Linked DNA regions of Homo sapiens: region 2 is linked to region 1. Evidence: promoter capture Hi-C in human tissues and cell types (Jung and others, 2019). All regions are on one chromosome and are shown on one strand. The core of a region is centred on a gene start or on the middle of the fragment in contact, and the rest is flanking DNA. Distances in the headings are between cores, read along the strand shown. Region 1 holds the start of EPO (erythropoietin). Region 2 overlaps SRRT (serrate, RNA effector molecule).

Region 1 (3,802 bases), core at 785-3,284:
GGCACCTGTCCATATGGATAAGATAGGGCTATAAACGCCCTCATCTTGCCATGGCTCTTCTAGGCCTCTTTAGGGTTAAGGCATACTCCCTTCTGAGAATTTCTGGTCTAACTGGTTGTCTAGCTTCATGTCCTGTTTCCATGGATTGTCTGTAACCAGCTTTTGTTGCAATTGTTACTGCTGATTAGTATCTTGCTAATCATAGGTTATGGAAAGATTGTGTTTCTGTTTTAAGGCTCTGTTAGAAATTACTGATGCACACACTATATTGTAAATTCTTATCTCTGTATACTGTACTTCTGCATACAAATGTACTGTACTTCTACATATAAATGTTATGTTAAAGAATTAATTCATCCCCATGTGACCATCTCACCTCATAATCAAATGACCCTAAATCCCTCACTAACCTACCCCCGCCCTCACTAAACTTAATAATAAATGATGGTACATCTGGTGCATTGTTGACACCACGGGACCAGAAGGCGGTGACCCCCCGGACCAGCTTTCACTATCTTGTGTGTGTCTATTATTTCTCAACCTGCTGATCCGCCTGGGAACAAAGAGAGAGCCCTGTTGCATTGCGGGCTGCTGGCCAGATCCCGCAATACTCACCTGACTCTCCATTCACTTTGCTGAATCGACAATCCCCCACCCACCTCATACCTCTTCCCATTGATGTCCTACCCCCCTTCAAGGCTGAGGTCATTGTCACCTCCTCCCTCAAATCTTTCTTGATTTCTCCCGGCTAACTCTTACAGCTCAGATCTACACATTCCAGTCTTTTTTTGTTTTTGAGACAGGCTCTCACTCTGTCGCCCAGGCTGCAGTGCAGTGGCACGATCATGGCTCACTACGGCCTCGAACTCCTGGGCTCAGGTGATCCTCCTGCCTTAGCCTCCTGCATATTTGGGACTACAGGCGTGAGCCACCACACCTGACTAATTATTTTTTATTTATTTATTTATTTTAGAGACAAGGTCTTGCCATGTTGTCCGGGCTGGTCTCGAACTCCTGGGCTCAAAGGATCTTCCTGCCTTGGTCTCCCAAAGTGCTGGGATTATAGGTGTCAGCTGCGGCGCCTGGACCTTTCCTGTCTTTTATGAAACCTGAATGGGATAGGCTGGTAGTTTCACCACACCCATTTGACAGATGAGGACATTGAGGGCTCAAGGACGAGGCCACTTTCTAAGGTGTGAGAGACCAGCTAGTCTTGGTCTCCTGCTCTGGGAATCTCACTCCTCTGGCTCAGGGTTTCCAGAAGCCATAAAACCTTAGCTGTAAATCCCAGCCCCCATCACTCTTGGTGTTAGCTGTATTTCAGTGTTCTTAAGAACTCAGCAATGCAGCCTAGCTAACCTACACCACAGGTCAAATAAACAGATGTCAAGGTGCATGTGTGTCCTGCACAATGGACTGTGTGCTCTGTGCACTAAAAGTTAAGTGTCTGGGGTGGGGGCTGGGTGCGGTGGCTCACGCCTGCAATCCCAGCACTTTGAGAGGCCGAGGAGGGTGGATCACCTGAGGTCAGGAGTTCAAGACCGGTATGGGCAATATGGCAACACCCCATCTCTACTAAAAATACAAAACATAGCCGGGTGTAAAGGTGTGCCTGTAGTCCCAGCTGCTCCAGAGGCTGAAGCAGGAGAATTGCTTGAACCCAGGAGGCAGAGGTTGTAGTGAACGGGAGATGGCACCACTGCACTGCCTGGGCAACATAGGGAGGCTACATCTCCAGAAAAAAAAAAAAAAGTTAAGTGTCTGGGTTTGCAGAGTACTAGACGGTGAGGAGTGAGGTGGGGAGGAAGAACCCCAAATTTCTTGCCCTATTTGCCCCCATCAAATTCCTCAACATGGTCAACATTGTTTCTAGAACATGTCCTGGGATTGTGGGAAGGGAGACCACTCATTTGCCCCTCCCTAAAGCTTCTGGGCTTCCAGACCCAGCTACTTTGCGGAACTCAGCAACCCAGGCATCTCTGAGTCTCCGCCCAAGACCGGGATGCCCCCCAGGGGAGGTGTCCGGGAGCCCAGCCTTTCCCAGATAGCACGCTCCGCCAGTCCCAAGGGTGCGCAACCGGCTGCACTCCCCTCCCGCGACCCAGGGCCCGGGAGCAGCCCCCATGACCCACACGCACGTCTGCAGCAGCCCCGCTCACGCCCCGGCGAGCCTCAACCCAGGCGTCCTGCCCCTGCTCTGACCCCGGGTGGCCCCTACCCCTGGCGACCCCTCACGCACACAGCCTCTCCCCCACCCCCACCCGCGCACGCACACATGCAGATAACAGCCCCGACCCCCGGCCAGAGCCGCAGAGTCCCTGGGCCACCCCGGCCGCTCGCTGCGCTGCGCCGCACCGCGCTGTCCTCCCGGAGCCGGACCGGGGCCACCGCGCCCGCTCTGCTCCGACACCGCGCCCCCTGGACAGCCGCCCTCTCCTCCAGGCCCGTGGGGCTGGCCCTGCACCGCCGAGCTTCCCGGGATGAGGGCCCCCGGTGTGGTCACCCGGCGCGCCCCAGGTCGCTGAGGGACCCCGGCCAGGCGCGGAGATGGGGGTGCACGGTGAGTACTCGCGGGCTGGGCGCTCCCGCCCGCCCGGGTCCCTGTTTGAGCGGGGATTTAGCGCCCCGGCTATTGGCCAGGAGGTGGCTGGGTTCAAGGACCGGCGACTTGTCAAGGACCCCGGAAGGGGGAGGGGGGTGGGGCAGCCTCCACGTGCCAGCGGGGACTTGGGGGAGTCCTTGGGGATGGCAAAAACCTGACCTGTGAAGGGGACACAGTTTGGGGGTTGAGGGGAAGAAGGTTTGGGGGTTCTGCTGTGCCAGTGGAGAGGAAGCTGATAAGCTGATAACCTGGGCGCTGGAGCCACCACTTATCTGCCAGAGGGGAAGCCTCTGTCACACCAGGATTGAAGTTTGGCCGGAGAAGTGGATGCTGGTAGCTGGGGGTGGGGTGTGCACACGGCAGCAGGATTGAATGAAGGCCAGGGAGGCAGCACCTGAGTGCTTGCATGGTTGGGGACAGGAAGGACGAGCTGGGGCAGAGACGTGGGGATGAAGGAAGCTGTCCTTCCACAGCCACCCTTCTCCCTCCCCGCCTGACTCTCAGCCTGGCTATCTGTTCTAGAATGTCCTGCCTGGCTGTGGCTTCTCCTGTCCCTGCTGTCGCTCCCTCTGGGCCTCCCAGTCCTGGGCGCCCCACCACGCCTCATCTGTGACAGCCGAGTCCTGGAGAGGTACCTCTTGGAGGCCAAGGAGGCCGAGAATATCACGGTGAGACCCCTTCCCCAGCACATTCCACAGAACTCACGCTCAGGGCTTCAGGGAACTCCTCCCAGATCCAGGAACCTGGCACTTGGTTTGGGGTGGAGTTGGGAAGCTAGACACTGCCCCCCTACATAAGAATAAGTCTGGTGGCCCCAAACCATACCTGGAAACTAGGCAAGGAGCAAAGCCAGCAGATCCTACGGCCTGTGGGCCAGGGCCAGAGCCTTCAGGGACCCTTGACTCCCCGGGCTGTGTGCATTTCAGACGGGCTGTGCTGAACACTGCAGCTTGAATGAGAATATCACTGTCCCAGACACCAAAGTTAATTTCTATGCCTGGAAGAGGATGGAGGTGAGTTCCTTTTTTTTTTTTTTTCCTTTCTTTTGGAGAATCTCATTTGCGAGCCTGATTTTGGATGAAAGGGAGAATGATCGAGGGAAAGGTAAAATGGAGCAGCAGAGATGAGGCTGCCTGGGCGCAGAGGCTCACGTCTATAATCCCAGGCTGAGATGGCCGAGATGGGAGAATTGCTTGAGCC
Region 2 (3,802 bases), core at 939-3,438, 160 kb after region 1:
CTCTTCCCAGTTTTCCCTGTCCAGAACTTTCTGGGGGCGGGGGTCGGGAAGTATGACAGCATTGGCTGATGGGGTCTCCCCCTCACTTCAGCAACTGCCACGGCCCCCGCCCCGCCCTGTCTCCTGTCCTGCTGTCCTCAGAGAGTGGGACACCTCCAGGCAGCAGGCCAGAGCCACTTGGCCCCTTGGGGCAGCAGACAGACTGCTTCCCACTTGTTGGTGTTGGGTCATTGTCATCCCTGATCACCAGGACCCTGTGTGGCTGTGGCGTCCTCCTAAAGCGACGAGTGAATCCAGACAAGAAAAGCAAAGATCTCGGTCGTTTGACAGAAAAAGAATTTTAATTTTTTTTTCCTTTTGTGGATGTTTTAATTTTAATCAACCATCTTTTCCCCCCTTCCTGCTCCTCCTCCTCCTCATCCTCTTTCTGCTCCTCCTCCTTGAAAAGAGCCAGAACTGGGAACTACACCCGCTCATCGACGGAGCTCGGAGCAAACCCACCTCCACCCCCACCATACCCAGCCCATACATGAGCCCCTGGGCTGAGCTGCGCGGCCCCGGCCAGGCAGACAGGCCAGGGCACTGCTGTGCACAATGCAGCGGTTTAGCTGAATGTGATTGCTCAGGCAGCTAGCCAGTCAGGCCCCACTGCGGAGTCCCGCGTGGGCATCTCGGCCGGGCGCCCAGCCAGGAGCCAGCCGGTGGCCCACCAGCCAGCATGGGCCCTGGGCGCCGCTAGTTAAATCTTGAGCTCTGTTTGACCAAGCGGCCAAGGTAAAGATCCTGGAGGTGATGCCTGCGGCTTTCCTTTCCTCTTCTGCCCCACTCGTGGTTCTGTTCTGTCTTCGCTGTCCCCTCTCTCGAATTGCTCTGTGTCTTTGTCCTAATCTCTCAGCACCTTCATTCTTCTCTGTTTCTGTTCTTGCTCCCTGCCTAACACCACCTTCTTCCCTGTTGGTTTTTTTAGTTTCTCTCTCTGATCTTTAGTTTTTCCCTTTGTTTTCGGTTTCTGGGACTTTCTCACACTCTCCCCTTTCCTCCCTTTCCCCTTTTCCTCATACTCCTCATTTCTTCTGTTTTCCCTCTGAGGTCCTATTTGAAATGTTTTATTTTTCTTCTCCCTAACCTTCCAGCCCTCTCCTCTCTCTCCCCCTGTGGGCAGGACCTGAGGCTCTAAAGGGCACTCCAGTGTCTCCCTTCGGTCTTTCCTGTCCCTTCACCGTCTTGCTTATCTTCCCACGGGTGGAGAAAGGTGCCCTGCCTCTGGGCTTTTGCTATCTGGCCCTCTGTCTTCCACCTCGGGGTGGAGGGAGTTGGCGGGAGCAGTTTTTGAATGACTGCAGTTTGGGGTTGGTGAGGAGAGGGAGGTTCTTCAGGGCCTGCTATTTCCTGAGCCTTCCTCTCTGAAGCTTTGGGAAATGACACCTTTTTACTACGTTAGTGTTTCCCAGAGATTTAAAGTGGTAAATCTGCCTCTCCTACCCTGGCGTCCCCCTGTAGTCATTGGTCTTCCCAAATCCAGAGCTCTTAGTTCCTGGTTCTCCCCCAAATCTTCACAGAACACAACTTCTGGTTCCTTTTGGGGTGTTGGGTGGTTCTAGCGCACCCCTATCCCTTAATCTCTCTATTTTGATGACCTTTTGTGGTTGTGAGAGGAAGGGGGATATGCCCTGTCTTTCCTGGGCCCCTTCCCACATCCTGGCCTTGGCTTCCAATAACTGTTTTGTCTTTCCCTCCCCCGCTTCGTTCCCAGGTTTCGGTCTAAGTACCACCCAGATGAGGTGGGGAAGCGTCGGCAGGAGGCCCGGGGGGCCCTGCAAAACCGACTGAGGGTCTTCCTGTCCCTCATGGAGACTGGCTGGTTTGATAACCTTCTCCTGGACATAGACAAAGCTGATGCCATTGTCAAGATGCTGGATGCAGGTGTGCGGATTTGGAGGGGTGGCAGGCATCTGGGCCCCATGGGGGTGGGGGTGTCTGGGGATCAGGTAGAAGCCGGTTGACAGGAGCCAGGGCCCTGGGGTCATGACCTCTGTTCCCTTTGTTGGTAGCCGTGATTAAGATGGAAGGAGGCACGGAGAATGATCTTCGCATCCTGGAGCAGGAGGAGGAGGAGGAGCAGGCAGGAAAGCCTGGGGAGCCCAGCAAGAAAGAAGAAGGACGGGCTGGAGCAGGCCTAGGGGACGGGGAGCGCAAAACCAACGACAAGGATGAGAAGAAGGAAGACGGCAAGCAGGTCCGAGCCCTGGGTCTCCTAGTGTTGTCCCTGGCAGCCTGGGGGAGGGGGGCGGGTAGGGGTCCATAGGAGCTAGAAGTAGGGGGCTGGGGAAAATGAACCTGTGGCCTCAGCTGTGGGGGTGGGGGCCCTCTGATAAAGGTGGGAGGGGAGGTTTGACATCCCCAGTGGTTGTCTCTTACCATAGGCTGAGAATGACAGTTCTAATGATGACAAAACAAAGAAGTCGGAGGGTGATGGGGACAAGGAAGAGAAGAAAGAAGACTCCGAGAAGGAAGCCAAAAAGGTGAGGTGTCTGTGGCCTGGGGTCAGAGTGTTGGGGCTGGGGTTCTGGCACGCTGACTTGTCCCCTCTGCTGTGGCTCACACAGAGTAGCAAGAAGCGGAACCGGAAGCACAGTGGTGACGACAGCTTTGACGAGGGCAGCGTGTCAGAGTCTGAGTCGGAGTCAGAGAGCGGCCAGGCTGAGGAGGAGAAGGAGGAGGCCGGTAGGGTTTCTTTTCTGCTTTAAAGTGCGTTCTCCTAATGCGGGTGGGGAGGTGAGAGGTTGGCGACATTGACGGGAGGGTGGGTGGCTTTTAGGGGAAAGCTTCTGTATCCTCCCCACCACAATCAGTAATAAAAATGCACCAACTCCTTCCTACCCCCCTTCCTGCCTAGAAGAAGCGCTCAAGGAGAAGGAGAAGCCCAAGGAAGAAGAATGGGAGAAGCCCAAGGACGCCGCGGGGCTGGAGTGCAAGCCGCGGCCGCTGCATAAGACCTGCTCCCTCTTCATGCGCAACATCGCGCCCAACATCTCCCGGGCCGAGATCATCTCCGTGAGTGGGGACCCGTGGAGTCAGGGCAGGGCTGATGGAGAAGTGGAGGGTAGAGGGAAGGCAGTGGGGCCCTGCCTGTGACAGATGCCCCCGTTTCACCTGCTAGGGAGGCCCCTTCCCCAGGTTCCATGGCCTCCGAGGACTAGTCCTGATAGCGCCATTGGCTTTCAGGTGCTGGTGTTCTGAAGCCCTTTAGTGGTTTTTCCCTGCCCAAGGATGGGAAGAGTGATAAGGCAGTTAGTCCCTAGGGTTCTGAGGGCAGTGGGGGATTGGAGGAAGAAGCGAATGAATCCTTGAGTCACTGTGGGGCTGCTTTTCTGCTTCTTGCAGCTTTGTAAAAGGTACCCAGGCTTTATGCGGGTGGCGCTCTCAGAGCCCCAGCCAGAGAGGAGGTGAGTAACTCGGTGCGTTGGAGGGAAAAGTGCAGGGGAACGTTAATGGCCAACACCAACTCCCTCGCTTGACTATGCTAACATTTTCTTTCTTGTGTAGGTTTTTCCGTCGTGGCTGGGTGACCTTCGACCGCAGTGTTAACATTAAAGAGATCTGTTGGAACCTGCAGAACATCCGTGTGAGTGCTGGGGGTGGGACTGTGGGGAAGAGGAAGGGAGACTCTGTGCCACACGGGACCTCTGTGTGACTTTGTTCATCTGATAGTTTGGTTGTTCTGCACACTCTTTGACCGTTTTGTCTGGCTACGTTGTCTCTGGGCAAGGCTCTAGGGCGTTAGCATGGACGGAACCTATGT

The links. Contacts are between HindIII fragments. The study calls those that stand out against the background at their distance.
Region 2: a fragment that was not itself captured here is called in contact with the fragment with the promoter of EPO in region 1 in 2 of the 25 tissues and cell types used here (liver and mesendoderm cells).

Annotation. Positions count from the first base shown.
Region 1 is chr7:100,718,434-100,722,235 of GRCh38, forward strand. It overlaps EPO (erythropoietin), which reads left to right and starts at 2,035. Exons shown (of 5, transcript NM_000799.4): 1 at 2,035-2,560; 2 at 3,125-3,270; 3 at 3,529-3,615. The coding sequence starts at 2,548. The HindIII fragment of the contact is 31,866 bases long and covers 1-3,802 here.
Region 2 is chr7:100,882,317-100,886,118 of GRCh38, forward strand. SRRT (serrate, RNA effector molecule) reads left to right here. Exons shown (of 20, transcript NM_015908.6): 6 at 1,754-1,923; 7 at 2,052-2,236; 8 at 2,424-2,522; 9 at 2,607-2,724; 10 at 2,897-3,054; 11 at 3,385-3,446; 12 at 3,547-3,625. Among named protein-coding and RNA genes, the nearest start is that of UFSP1, 5.5 kb to the right of the region's middle. RefSeq lists an enhancer at 3,488-3,802. The HindIII fragment of the contact is 4,538 bases long and covers 1-3,802 here.